Regions from separate parts of the Homo sapiens genome. Here region 2 is linked to region 1. The links are contacts of gene promoters, found by promoter capture Hi-C in human tissues and cell types (Jung and others, 2019). All regions are on one chromosome and are shown on one strand. Each heading gives the region's core, a stretch centred on a gene start or on the middle of the fragment in contact. The rest is flanking DNA. Distances are from core to core; before and after follow the strand shown. Region 1 holds the start of IRX2 (iroquois homeobox 2). Region 2 has its middle 39 kb from the start of IRX2-DT.

Region 1 (7,583 bases), core at 188-2,687:
GGGCAAATCCAATTTGCAACTCAGAAGCCAGTCACCGTTTCGAATTCTTCAAATACGCCGTAATTAGCATTTTAATTCATCCTTTAACGTTTAAATTCGAGGCATTTGCAGCCTTCGCCAAGGCCCCAGCGACTCGGTCGCTGCCCAGAAATTCCGCCGAGGGCCGGCAGTCGCGACAACCCCGTAATGGCCTCAATCGCCCGTAACGTGCTTCGCCGCGGCCCGGGCCTGGCCCAGCTCAGTAACCTCGAGACTCGCGAGCCGCCCCCAGGTCGCCGGAGCAGGAGCTGCGCTCGGGCCACGGAGGACTCAGGCGGCCCTTAGCGGGTCACGCGCCCGCAAGCACGATATTTGAAAGCATGGTCCGCTGGACAGAGTAAGGCCGAAACCTGGGCGCCTCGGGCCGGACTCCGGAGCCGCAGCTGAATGCTCGGCTCCTGGGCCTAACTCGGTGACCCCCACCGCCCTGAGCCCCGCGAGTGAATGCGAACCGCCCGGCCGTCGGCTCAGAGGCCGCAGTGACGCGGACCCTCGCGCCCCACGCCAATGCAGGCGAGCACACAGCCCGCTCCGAACGCCTCCCCAGGCTGCGGTGCGGAAACCAGGGACAAACGGCGCCAGACCCCGGCCCCGGCGGAGACGCACTTCCCAGGCTCTCAGAGAAAATCAGCCGGCGAGCCGAGGGGACGCGCGGGGGGCGCGCGGGTCCCGGCCGGGCTCAGGGACGTCCCCGCCTGCCGCGCTGCCCTCCCCACCCGGGGCCCGGCTCAGCCTGCGGGGCGGCCAACCGAGCCGGCGACTCCTGAGTCGCCAGCCGCGCCACATTCCCGGCGGCCCCCGCCCGCCGAACCCGAGCCCCGCTCCGCCTGAGCCCCGTCTGGGTCCCGGCGCCCAGGAGTCCCGCGTCCCGCCCGCGCCCGGTTACCATGTAGGACGGGAAGCCGGCGGCGGCGGCGGCGGCGTCGGCCGAGTACTGCAGCGGGCTCCCGAAGCCGGTGGCCGCCTGCGCCGTGAAGGCCGCCGAGCCCGGGTAGGGGCTGAACGCCGAGCCCGACGCCGAGCGCGCCAGCTCCTCGCTGCGCGGAGCCGCCAAAGCCGACGCGCCGTAGGCCGGGCACGAGTAGAGCGCCAGCGAGCCGGGCGCCTGGTACAGGTAGCCCTGCGGGTAGGACATGGTGGGCGCGGGGCGCGGGGCCCGCGTCACGCCGAGCAGCGGGCAGGGCGCGCGGCGCCCTCCATCCACGCCCGGCCGGGGCGCGGCGCGGCGGCGGGCACCCGGACGGCCGGCGGAGGCAGGCCGGCCCGGGTACTAGCCTGGGCGGCCCGCGGGCCGGGGCGGCGGCGGGGTGGCGGTGGCGGCGGCAGCAGCGCGGAGCCGGTGGGCGCAGCCGCGCGCCAGGCCGGCGGTCGGGGTTTGGGGGAGTCTGGAGTCGGGAGTGAGGAGTTGAGGAAGGAGCGCTCGAGTTTCCGAGGGACATTGGAACGCGCAGCTGTCCATCACGCGCTCATCTGCATATTCGGGGGCCCGCCCCTCCCCTGCTCCGCCCGCTGCAGCCTCCGGGCCGCGGCCGGGGGAGGGGCAGAGAGACGGGAGGGAGGCGGGGGAGGGCGGAGGCGACGGAGGCGGGCGGCGGGAGGGACCGGCAGGCTTTTGTGGCGCAGCCGCCTCTCTAGCAGCTCCGGCCCCAGCCCGCGGCTCGCGGACCTGCAGCCCAGCCCGGCCGCGCTGCGTGCCCCGGCGCGCACCCCTCCCACTCCCATCCACTCGGAGCCACGTCCCCTGCCCGGCTCCGGCCGGCTCCCACCGTCCCCGGCCACCGTCTTCGCCCCTGCCCGGCCCCCGCCCCTTCCAGCCACTACCCCGCCCCCACCCCCTTCTCCACCCTCACGGACTAGGCAGAGGCCGCCCGCGGTCAGGCCAGGCCGGGTCCAATTAGGGGACTCACAGCCTGCCCCGCTGTGCACCCCGAGGAGGCCCGGCCCCTGTGTCCAATCCGGAAGTCGCAGGGAAGTGGGGAGGTCAGGATGGTGGCGCCCGCGGCTCGGGTCTTCCTCCGGGCAGTGCGCGCGGCTCTCACTTCCACGGTCCCGGACCTGCTCTGCCTCCTGGCCCGAGGCTCCCCGCGTGGCCTCGCGTCTGGTCGCCTACCCCTCGCGGTCCACTCCGCCCAGCATGGACCTGGATCCGGGGCGCCTTGGTTGCGAATTGCCAGGAGGGCCCTGAGGTGAGCTTTCTGCCCCCAAATCCGCAGCGCAACCCCCGGGGCCCTGAACGTTACGACTTTCCACTGTTGGGAATGACGCCAGGGCTTCAGCTAAGAAGACGCCGTCCCCTAAAGAGTTTTATTTTATTTTGTTTTTCTAAGTTGACTCCTCTTTCAGATTTGTGTTGTCAAAACACTGGGGGGATGATTGTTACCTGACAAACCGCCTCTGGCAGGACCTGAAGCCTCCCAGTCACGTCGAGAACGGGCAGGAGCTCAGGTTGGCGCCGCCGGTGCAGTGGGCATTACAGGTAGCTCAGGTGACGCGCGGCTGGAGTAGGGGGGCGGTTGCCTTGCGGGGCTCAGAAGCGAGGCGGTTGGCGAGGGTTCCTAGGACCCCAGCTTCCTAGAACCCTCTCCCCATCACGCTTCTCCAACCCTTTTCCACTCGGGGATGGCCGAAGAGGGCGTCTGGCTGCCCACTCCGAAGGGTCACCTATGGGGGGCGCTCAGGGGGATGGAAGAGTGTCAGGTCTGTGCTGGCCTATTGGGAGCACCCACCCAGCAGGTGCCTCTATCCTCGGAAGCCGTCTCGGGTGGGTGCGGTGGAGAAGAGAGAGCGCAGTGGCCTGGGGCGGGCCTCAGCTCAGGCCTGCAGCCGACTCCTGCACCCCTGCTGGCCCTGCAGCCTGCGGAGCAGCCTTAGTGATCTCAGGACGCAGGGCATGTTGCGGCCTCCCTGTGGTGCGGCTGCAGCGGCGCGGAGGGAGCGGAGCCCGGGTTGCCAGTCTGGTCCAGGGCGCAAGAGAAACACTCACGGCATCAGGCTGTCTTTCCCCAGGTGCAAGGGAACCAGTTGCAAACTGCAGTGCTGTGCTTGAGGATGGCTCCTCCTGAGCCGGCAGGCTCCCGGTAGGCGCGGTCCAGGCACGTTACCCCTCCCGCCAGGAGCTCCCGAGCCGAGCCACTCGCCCCCTACCAGTTATCCCACCCACCCCTTCGCCCACACTGCTCCCCCACCACTCTTCCTACAAACCACACCCCCATCCTGCACACATCCTCTTCAGGCCATCTCAACACACGCACACGCACACACACCCACGACCACCTCTCCCTCCACCCACAGACACCCCGTTCCCACAGGCTGGGCCCCCTGCAACGACCCAGCGGGGGGTTTCAACCTTGTTGCGACTCCACATGGGACATCCTAATTCAGTCCAGGACAGATATTTTTAATCAATTACTATAGAGCTGAAAAACAGAGAGAGAGAGAAAGCAGCCGGGTTGGGCAAGCCGTCGACAGTCTGCGACATTTTTGCGCTTCCTGGGAGGGAATTCCTCCAAGAAGAGGGGTAAATGAGAGGCCCACACGCTGGATGGCAAACACAAACACTGTCAGATCAGATGGCAACCTTTAGGGTTCCTTTACGATCAGATCAGTTTAAATGAAAAAAAAATCGGGTGTAATTTTTATCACCAGGGAGCACTGGCCTGGAGTATTTCCATTTCTAAAGAGCGGTTCCCGCTGTGGTTTCATTAGCATTTGGGGCTCATCCTCCCTCCCCCTCCCTTGACCCACCCCCCTCCCCCCGCCGGACCTCTGCCAGGGGCAGAAGAGAAAACAGCCAGTTATTATACAAACATCCTCAGTTTGGAGCTGGAGTGTCTGCTCTGGATACAGTCGATTCTGACATCAATTAAATATATAACCAGACACGTGCAGTGGCGGGGAGGGTCCCCTCACCCAGGGTGCATCTCCAGAAACGCCGCCTGCCCTTCCCCCTCTTTAGCTCAGTGTTGGGAGTTTGAAGATGGCCTCTTCCCGTCCTGTGTGTATTTTCCCCTTAGCAATTATACTCCTCCACTGAAATCTATATGTTCCATACCGCTGCTGCCTGTTACTAATAAAAACCGTCTACCTTGCACTATTAAACAGTCGACTCTTACTACATGCCGTTTTTATTGGTAGTGACTGTAGCAAATTAAAATGCCTACGCAGGGACATTAAAAACTTAACACTCGTCATTGTTATTGAAATATATAAACTACGTTTTGCTTTAAAGCTCTCTGATATTAAAGAAAAAAATCACATTCCTTCTTCTTAAGTTAAAGTTGGCTTGGTCTTCTTCTTAAAAAAAAAAAAAATCAATCATGAGAAAACATGCTGCCAGCGTGGAGTCTTGGCGCGGCGGTCCCGGCGAGGCTGCCTGAGAGGGTGGCGGGCTCAGCCCAGACTCCGTCTCGGGGCCACGAGGGCTGCAAGGCCGCGGCTCCCGAAGAGGAGGGCCTGGGATGTTTTGCTCAAGGGCGAGGCGGGGTGCTCAGGCCTGTGGGGTCGCTGGGGAGAGCCCGGCACTTGGCTTCTGAGGCTTTTCAGTTGCCGTCCGAGCAGGAGGGAGGGAATGAGCAGGCACGCAGGGAAAACCCAGTAACTGCTTTGCAAACGCGACCCCTGGTCACAATAACCCAGGCGATGGGGGCAGTTTCAGGTTCCTGGTGGGCCCTGCCCCCTTTCCTAGGTGTGCCCTAGGAGGTGGGGAAAAAATTAACACTGTTTCTATTTTTCTTTATTGTCCCTGCAACAGCCAAAGAATTTAGAACGAGTCTACGTGGACACGCAAGTTTCAGCGAGCGGGGATTTCCTGCGAGGCCGAGCGCGAGGAACAGCCGGCCCCGGAGGCTCGGGCTCGGGGTCTCCCCGGGGACGCGGCCGACTGAGAAGGCCGGGGCGCTCGCCGGGCGCGGCGCCGTCCTCCGTGTCGCGGGGACGGAAGGAGGCGACGCAGGCCAGGAGTCGTGCGCGCGGGCGGCGAGGGGGCGCTGTGGCCCGTGTCTGCCGGCCCGAGTCCCGGCAACGGTGGGCGCGACCCACCTCCTCCCCCGGCGGCTTAATTCGGGGAAGAAGAAAAAACGGCATCGAGGCATTTCAATAAAACCTAAGCGACTCCTGATCCTTTCTCATTGTGGTTCCTTATGAGCTTTCGGTGTCTGGCGGGGAAACAGTTACCGTTCGGGGGTGTGGCAAACTTTTTTGGCAATTAAGATGAAACAGACGCTTTTATGTGGGTTTCCTTTAATGAAGTAACATTGGAAATGTAAGTAGTTTCAGTGCATCAAATCACATCGCTACCGTATTCGCGGTCACCGGCCCTCCCGTTCCAGGGCTCCCCGCGTTTGTCGAGGGAGAGAGCGAGGCAGGAACAGGGGGCCGGGGACATGAGAAGTTTGGCTAAGAAATTTTTCTTTTCTTTGAAAACAAAAGCGTTGTTATAAATGGAACAAAATTTAAGTCAACATGGAACCCACATCTCTTTCAAACGTCGTTTCTAGGTCTAGTACTCTGTGAGTAGGTTGGACTGGATTTCACGCTCAACCGGCATTTCTAGGCTCTCAAAGACGCTTCCGAGGCCTAAATGTTTTCCTGGAAAACACGTGCAGAGGAGCATCCGTGGAAGACTGAAAGGTCCCCGCAGCTCCAGTCCTGGCAGGATGTGCAAGGCCTCTCGAGGTTTTCAAATGGGCCCCCGAGGCCTGGGAGATCCCCGAGTAGCCACGCGGGCGCCACTTCAGGGACGCGGGGCGGCGGCTACTGTGGGCCGGGAGGGCCCCCGCACGGGCTGCTCTGAGCGCCTGGACCCGGGACCCTGCGCGCGCTCTTTTCTTTTTCTTTCGTTTCTTTCTTTCTTATTTATAATTTACATTCTAGGGACCTCGTATTCAGCTAACCAGCTCTTGCTTACTTAACTGCCCTGTTTTCAGCTCCGGATTTCTGGGAGGTCTCCCCATGGCTAACTTGTCCCTCCCGGCATCCTTTAGCGCTCTGCAAAATTTGCCTTCCTCCCACAGATGCCCCGCCTCCGACGTGCTTCCTGAAGTTTCTCTCCCGCTCAGGGTGCCCACAATCCTGAATTCTCCAGCATCTCGCCGACTCCGTCTCTACCCTCCTCTCCTTCCTAATCTCGCGCTGGCTTCGCCCTTTTCTCTCTCCTCCTCCTTCCTACGCGCCCCGCCCCCTCCCCCCAGGTCGCACCTCTCCCCGCCCGGGTCGGGAGCCCCTCGTGGCCAGGCGTCCGCGCGGCTCAAGACCGAGGTCCGCCACGCTGGGCCGCTCGTGGGCGGCTCTCACCCGGCATACCGTGGAAACGGCGCGTCCCGCCAGCTGCGGCTCCAGCCTGGGAGGGAGCGCAGCGCGGGGAGCCTGCAGCGTCTGGAGAGTGAGGAAAAGGGACATTCCTTGGAAATGGACAGAGCCGAGTTCCTTAAAGGGATCGCAGTTGAAAGAGACCCTCTTCAAAATCAGCAACGACCTGGCAGCCTTAGTTCCTCAACAGGAGATGGTTCGAAGATGAAATGTTTGAAACTCCGCCGCCGTTTCACCTTTGCACACACGCGCACGGCAGGCCCAGATCCGCACAGAGACGCAGACACGCGCGCGCTCGCGCTTCCCGGAGAGGTCGGCGCGTCTCGCTGAAGCTGTTCTGGTCAAGTGGAGTTGTCAGGGCTTTGTTTTGTTTTTGTTTTGTCTTTTAAATGTGTTTTACAAGACAGTCTTCAGCAGAACTTAGCTCCCTCAACCCTCCGTCCCTCCAGCAGCTCCTCCGTGGCTCTGCAATCTTCTGTTTAAACACCAGAGCGCACCTCGGTGCTGGCCTCGGCGGGGGTGCGGGGTGCGGGTCGCGGGGTGTGCGGTCACCCAGGAGGCTGCGAAGAGTGCAGGGGTCAGCTCCATCCCGACGAAAGCAGATAGGACTCCTCGCTCGCAAGAAACACTGGAGAAAAGAAAATAATTCCTCGAGTGTTTTTACAATTATTTTAATCCAACCAGCGAGGCTCTAAAGAGCGTTTGTCTTGAGGCCGTGTTGAATACCCTTTGCCAACTGTAAATTCGGCGTGTGTGCCCGAAACTGCTAGCCCTGACCAGGGGCTCGGCAGCACATGGCCAGGCACACACCGAACTCCTCCTTCCCAAATCCTTCTGCAGGATCCTACACCCCTGGAGTATATAGGCAGCGGGAGGGGAGGGTTGGGTTTTGCTTTCTTTGCTTTTTATTTTTATTTTTTAATATGGCTGGGAATGCAGAAATTTTAAAAATGGATACATTTGAGTGTGTTAAAAGTAAAAACTTCTCTTGGACAAAACATAAACTGCTAACCGCAACGGGGGAGAAGATATTTGCCGCACATGTAAATAACAGAGACTGTTCTACAGCACCAGGAGGAATTCTGACTGCCAATGGGTGAAGACGAGGCACCCAGGGAAATAAAGGGGCAGGGATGGGGCAGCCCTCCACGCAGAGGAGACGCCTGAGAATGCGCACATTCACTGGTTGTCTATCTCTAGACAACAGCAGATGCCTCTTCACACCAATCGATGGCACC
Region 2 (7,394 bases), core at 1,133-3,632, 38 kb after region 1:
TCTTTGATTTCTTTTCCCAACCATTTAAAAATGCAGAAACCATTCTTAGCTTGTAGTGCATATAAAAGTAGGCAGCAGGCTGGATTTGGCCTGCGTGCTGCAGATTGCCAACCCATGCTACAGAATATACCCTGAAAGCCTGTCACCTCAAAATTTCAAATCATTGCTTCCCAAAGACTTAAAGTGATTATTCAAATCTTCATCAGTAACTTCTTTTAGATCAGCTGGTTTCCATTTTGGACTCTGGTCTTTATTAATTAAAACAGCTCTGACACCTTCATAAAAGTCATGACCCTCCATACAAGCTTGACTTAGCTGATACTCCATAGTTAGTACTTCTTGCAAGGTCTTTCAAGACCCCTCCAGGAGTTACCTTAGTGTGATCTTTAGAGATGTTGGAGACATGTTATTAATTACCTTCAATTGCTCTAGGGCAAAAGATGAACAATCTTGCTGTAAGTTTTCAATAATTTGTCCCACAGTATTGGCTGAAAAGCAACTGTTTATTTTGCCCATGTGTTCCTCAAGTATAAAAGACTTGTCTTCATCAATCTTAGACTCCATATGGTAATTTTCTAAGACAGCTGCAATATTTTCTTTTGAAGGAGATTTCAAGGCTAACAAATCTTCCTCTAACATGCCCAACTTTTCAGAATCTACAAAGTGTGTAGCAATTCCTGCTCTGTACATATCATTTCATTTTAGTCTGAATCCTGTTAATGCAAGGATGTAACCAAGTTTTCCTTGAAGTCATGGCAAGAAATAACCTCCACCCACATCAGGGAACAGCCCTACTGCGGTTTCTGGCATGGCAAAAAGACACTTTTCTGTAGCCACTTGAAGCTGCCCATGGACTGACGACCAACTCTCCCACCCATTGTAATTCCATGAATAAGTGCAACATAAGGTTTCTGGCAAGAACCAAAAGCATTGTTCAGCATATATTCTTCTCTGAAGAAAACTGGCGCTATCTTCCGTTTTGCCTTTTCAGCCTCCGAGATGACTCTAATATCACTCCCATCACAGAAAGCCTTTCCTCCGGCTCCCTTTATAATGATCAGGAGAGTTTCAGGATCTTCTTCCCACTTCTCTAGCCATGGATACATCTGCACACGTTTCTTTCCCCCCCCCCAATAGCACGTCTTCTGCTGCATCTGTGTGCTTGGACATTCTCAAATGGTGCAGTATGGTATTAATCCTTTTGAATGCATTAAACCTCGACATGAGCCTCCCCACCTCCTGCTGCCCCATCGCCAAACACTCCGGAGCTAAAGCAGCAGAGCAAGAGGCACCCGGATGGTTCCAGCACCTCCAAATACAGCTTTTTATATGCATTGGGAAAACAAAAAATTTGTGTGACTCGATTTATTACAGTGGTCTGGAACCCAGCCCTCATCTCTGAAGTATGCCTGTATATACACGCATGTGTATCTATAAACATGTAAATCCTATGTAAACATACGTGTGCACCTATAGATGTGTAAGTCCTGCATCCGCAGGTATGTGCACCTGTAGACATGTAAGGCATATATATACATATATACATGTCAGCTGTGAGAGCAGACTTCACTAATTGCTAATGAACAGAACATGTCAGAAATGATGGAATGTCACTTCCAACATTAAGTATTAAAAGATTCTGACTTTCCATTTTGAGTCTCCTTTCTTTCTCATTATCCTCCAATCACTGATCTGGGGAAAACCAGCTGCCAAGGTTTCCCTGAGACCAGCGACCTGGAGATCGTGAGGCCGCCTTGTGCACAAGCTCATGTGGGGAGAGTGAGGCTGGTCAACAGCCAGGTGAGTGGGCTTGGAAGCCAGTCACTGCCCCTGTTGAACACTTAAAACAAATCCTCTAATTGTGCAAGTTCAATATTGAAAGGCAAATTAGACCTAGCTTATTACATATAGGTATTCAACTTTTCTACTTTCTTTCTATTTAATCTGTTAGTTTCTGAATTTTAAGTTACTGTCTCTTACAATGACTGAGAATTTTCTACTTTTTGTACATTGTGTGTTTTAAGCTGTTATGTGCAAAAAAGTTTATGACTGACATGTCTTCTTAATGCATTATTCCCTTTATTATATAAATAACCAATTTAATCCCCCTTGTTATTTTCACCCCGACTTCTAATTTATTTTCTGTCAATGCCTCCAGTTGCTAGCTTTTTATTAGCATTTGATTGGCATCCATTTCCCATCCAATTCTTTTCAACTTCCATATGAAAGTTGTGCCTTGGTGCGTCTCTTCTGTTGGTGCAGAATTGGATTTTTTTAACCCAATTTGTAAGGTTCTCTCTTTTGCTACATGAACAGAACTCATATTTATTACAAGTACTGATCTGTTTCACTTTTCTTTTCTGCCAAATAATTTATTTCTAGATATTATATTTGCCATTTTATTTTTTCCTCATAAATGCCATTGTTTTTAATTGATCATGTTTTCTCAGTTACTTTCCAACCTCTCTCTAATGATATTCAAAAACACAATTTTTTTTCAAGCATCATTATTAAGGCATAATTTTCAATGTGGTGATTTAGTGGGGCTGTTGAGTAAAATTGCTATGAACATTCATGTGCAAGCGTTTGTTGGATTATGTTTTCATTTATCTTACGCAAATACCTAGGCACACAAGCACCATGCCATATGCTAAGTGAATGTTCGACTTTGTAAGAAACTTCCAAACTGCTTGCCAAAGGCCTGTCTCACTTGACATTTCCACCAGTGAGGTGTAACATTCATACCAACACTTGCTACTTGCTATTTTTCAGCTTTTTAACTTTTGCTAATCTAGTGGTTTTGTGCTTATATCTTCTTGAGATTTTAATTTGCTTTTCTCTGATAACATGGCAAACATTTTTCTCATGTGCTTACTGATCATTTATATATCTTTTGTTTATAAATGACATTTTGAAATACTTGCCAACATTTTGAAAAAACCTGGTTTTTCAATATATTCTTATTATTAAGTTGTAAGAGTTCTTTATATATTTTGGGTACAGAACCTTGGTCTGAAACATGTATTATGAATATTTCCCCCAATATATGGCTTACCTTTTCATTTAAAAAAAAAGTCTAAGAACAGAAGCTTTCTAATTTAAGTTTAAATGATCAGTTTTTTCAAAAAATATGGGGTTTAGCTTTTTGCATGATATGCAGGAAATTTGTGCTAGCCTCTATGTCACAAAAATAAGATTTTCTCCTTATTTCTTCCAGGAGTTTTGTAGTTTATAATTTTAGATTTAGGACTATGACCCATTTCAAGTTTTTTTGCATGTGTTTGACAGGTGCTGTTTTGTTTGTTTTGCTTTTGTTGTTTTTGTACTTTAGCTGATATCCAGTTGTCCTAGTACTATTTGTTAAAAAGATTATCTTTTCCCCATTAACTTGACTGGAAAATCAACTGAACCTTTAAGAGCACATGGATTTGTAGGCTATTAACTTTATTCCATGGATCTGCATGTGTCTTTCAAAGTGGATACCACATTGACTTTGTTACTGGGGCAGACGTGGAAGTCAGCTGGTGCAAGTTCTTCAGCTTTTCCCTAGCTGTGCTGGCTCTTCCAGATTATCTGCATTTTCATAGAAGTTTTAGAAAAATCTGGTCATTTTCTACTAAAATGTCTGTTGGGATTTTGATTTCAATGACTCTATTGATTAACTGGGGGAAAATTGATATCACAATATTGAGTCTTCCCATCAATGAATATTATATTTCTTCCCATTTATTTAGATTTATTTAATTTCTCCCAGAAATATTCTGTAGTTTAGCATATAATATGGCACATATTTATTCCTACATAGTTAAGGTTTCGATGCTATTGATAATGGATATTTTAAAAAATTCATTTTCCAATTGCTCATTGCTAGCATAGAGAAATATAATTATTATATATTGACCTTTTATTATCTGACCTTGCTAAATTAGTCAATTAATTCTAGCAGCTTTCGTAGATTTTTTAGAATTTCCTACATCCAGATATTATGTTATTTACAAATAAAGGCAATTTTATTTCTTTCTTTGCAATGTGTATGACTTTTGCTTCTTTTTCTTGCCTTATTGCACTGGGTAGAAGCCCCAGGACAATGCTTAGTAGAAGTGGTGGGAGCAGACGTTGCCTTGCTCCTGATTATAGGGAGGGAAGTATTGTTTTTCATCATTAAATGTTGTTAATTGTGGACTGAGTGTATATGTTCTTTATGGATTGAGGATGTCCGTTTCTCCCCTGATTTTGTTGAGAGCTTGATTTTTGATGAATGCTTTTCTTTTATTTCTTCCATAAATTCAGGTAATCGTGTAGTTTTCCTTCTTTATTTTGTTAACATGGTGAATCATGTTAATGAATTTTTTAATGTTAATGAATCCCGAATTTTTGGGATGAGCTCCACTTGGTCACAATATATTTTATTTTTATTGCTAGGTTTAATTTGCTAATATTTTATAAAAGAATTTGTATATTCAATGATAGATATTGTTCTGTATGTTTCTTGAGATATTTTTGTCTGGTTTTGGTAATTTGGTATCAAGGTAGTTTGGCCTCATAAAATAAATTAGGAAACTTCTCTATTTTCTAAAAAGAGAATGTGTATTATTATTTATTCCTTAAATGATGGATAGAATTTACTACTGAAGTCATATGAGCCTGGAGTTTTCTTTGTAGGAAGGTTTAAAAAAATTTTTTTTTAGATAGATACAGAGCTATTCAGATTTTCTATTTTTTTCTTATGTGTGGTATCTTTAAAAAATTTCTCCACTTTATCTAAGTAGTTGAATATATTTGTGTAAGTCTATTTCTTTATAATCCTTCCTTATAACCTTTTTATGACTCTAGGGTCTGTAGTGGTATGTATTAATTGACTCTTGATACTGGCAATTTATATCTGTTCTTCTCTTTTTCTTGTTCAGTCAACTGAAAGTATATAAATTTTGTTGATCCTTTCAAAGAATGACCTTTTGATTTTATTGTTTTTCCATTTTTATTTTATTAATGTCAGATCTGATCTTTATTATTTTCTCCTCTTATTTTGAGTTTGCTTTGATATTCATTTTATCAGTATCTTAAGGTAGAGGTTTAGACTACCGAATTTAGACTTTTCCCATTTTTCAAAAAAAGCATGTAATGCTATACATTTTGTTGTAAGAACTGCTTTAGCTGAAGCCTGCAAAGTTTTACATGTTGCATTTTTAGTTTTCATTTCATTCAGTTTAAAATATTGCTGTCATCTTCAATTCATTGGGTTATTTAAACATATTTTATGCTGGGCACAGTGGTTCATTCCTATAATCCCAGCACTTTGGGAGACAAAGGTGGGCAGATTGCTTGAGCCCAGGAGTTTGAGACCAGCCTGGGCAACATGGCAAAATCTTGTCTCTACAAAACATACAAAAATTAGCCAGGTGTGATGGCATGTACATGTAGTCCCAGCTACTCAGGAAGCTGAGGCAGGAGGATCCCTTGAACCCAGGAGGGTGAGGTTTCAGTAAGCCAAGATTGTGCCACTTGCCTGGGGACAGAGCAAGACCCTGTCTCAAAAATACAAAACGAAACATATTTTGCTTAATTTCCAAATACTTAGGAATTTCAAAAATATCTTCTTATTATTTATTTCTAATTTAATGCCATCATGTCAGATAATGTATTCTGTATAATTTCAGTCCTCTTAAACTTATTGAAACTTATGTAATGCCCTATTATTTGGTTTACATTGGAGAAGGCTCCAGGTTCACTTGAGAAGGTATGAATTCTGCCATTGTATGGTGGAGATTCTATAAAGGTCAACTTATTTGAGTTGGTCGATGGTGTTGTTTAGGTCTTCTATGTACTTGCTGATTTTCTCTCCACTTGTTATATTAGTTGCTAAGAGAGGAGTGCTAATATTACCAACTCTACTCATGAAAGTATCTATTTCTTTTTTCACTCTAGAAATTGTATGCCTCATGATTTTAACACACATATTATTAAGTACATACAAACTTAGGATGAGTATATCTTCTTGTTAAATTGACTTTTTTGTTATAATAAAATATATTCTGTATGTCTTTCTATATATTGTAGTATTTCTTGTCCTAAAGCCTACTTCGTCTGATACTGAGATAGTCACTTCAGCTTTCTTATGATTAGTTTTTGCATTTTATCCTCCTTTCTGTCATTTTATTTTAACCTGGTTCTGTCTTTATATTTAAAGCTTATTTCTTACAGATAGGATATATTGGAGTATTGCTTTTTTATCATCTAATAATCTCTTCTGTTCAATTAATGTTTTTACATCATTTATATTTAGTGTAACTATTATTATGATTTGATTTAAATCAGCCTGTTACTATTTGTCCCATCTGTTTTTTACTACTTTGTCTTTATTTTTTTTGCCTTTTTCTATATTGAGATTATAAAATTATTCCAATTTATCAGAATTATCATCTTACTAGTTGTACCTCTTTATAATTATATATAATTTTAGTGCTGTCTAGTGTTTACAACATGAAACTTTAACTGAGTGAAGTACACCTTTAAATGTTATATCTCTATGTATATAATGCAAGACCTTTATAAGGGTGTGATTCCATTTCCCATTGTCGTATATCTTATTTATACATATAAACCTCATAATATAGTATTACTTTTTGCTTTAAATGATCAGTTATTTCTAAAAATTTCAAAAATGGAAAAAATAACCTTAATACTTATTTGCGCATTTACCATTTTGGAGGCTCTTTATTTATTTTTATAGATCCAAATTCTGAGCTGGTTTTGCTTAATTTCAGCATAAAGTTGTGGGTTTTTTTTTTCCTACTAACGTTGTTGTTCATATCTATGGTGATAATTGGATTTCTTTACTCAAAAAAAATGTTTGCCTTATGTTTGACAAATATATCCCTGGACATAGAACTACAGGTTGACTTTTTTTTTTCTTTGCTGCACTTTATAGATTGTTTTCATTGTCTTCTGGCTTTCATTGTTTCTCTTAGGCAATGTGTAATTATTATTATCTTAGTCTCCCCTGTTCATGTTTTCTCACCCTCTAATCCCTGGCTGCTTGCAGGGTTTTCTTTGTACTTATTTGACTGGGCTTTAGTGAGTTTATTCTACCTGTGTGTTCATAGTTTTCATCAGTTTGGAAAAATACTAACCATTATTTATTCAAGTGTATTTCTGACCTCTTTTCTGTTTCAGGGACTCCAGATATACTTCTATTAGATTGTTTAATGTTTTCCCATAGGTCCCTGAGGCTCTAGTGTTTTTCCTCCATCTCTGTGCTTTTTTTTGAGGGGATATGATGCGTTTTTTATATATTTAAGTTCTCTGATTTGTCTTCTGCAATGTATAGCTCTATTTATTTTTGATGGTTGCATTGTATTCTATTTCATGAAAATAGAATATCATAATTTACTCAT

Evidence for each region. Contacts are between HindIII fragments. The study calls those that stand out against the background at their distance.
Region 2: a fragment that was not itself captured here is called in contact with the fragment with the promoter of IRX2 in region 1 in 3 of the 25 tissues and cell types used here (IMR-90 fibroblasts, bladder and stomach).

Annotation. Positions count from the first base shown.
Region 1 is chr5:2,750,240-2,757,822 of GRCh38, forward strand. IRX2 (iroquois homeobox 2) reads right to left here and starts at 1,438. Exons shown (of 4, transcript NM_033267.5): 1 at 926-1,438. The coding sequence starts at 1,174. IRX2-DT (IRX2 divergent transcript) reads left to right here and starts at 1,654. Exons shown (of 4, transcript NR_122126.2): 1 at 1,654-2,225; 2 at 2,441-2,515; 3 at 3,046-3,116; 4 at 4,790-7,583. RefSeq lists enhancers at 1,553-2,477, 6,365-7,317, 7,318-7,583. The HindIII fragment of the contact is 21,259 bases long and covers 1-7,583 here.
Region 2 is chr5:2,787,297-2,794,690 of GRCh38, forward strand. It overlaps the pseudogene LOC100130748. Among named protein-coding and RNA genes, the nearest start is that of IRX2-DT, 39 kb to the left of the region's middle. The HindIII fragment of the contact is 4,512 bases long and covers 127-4,638 here.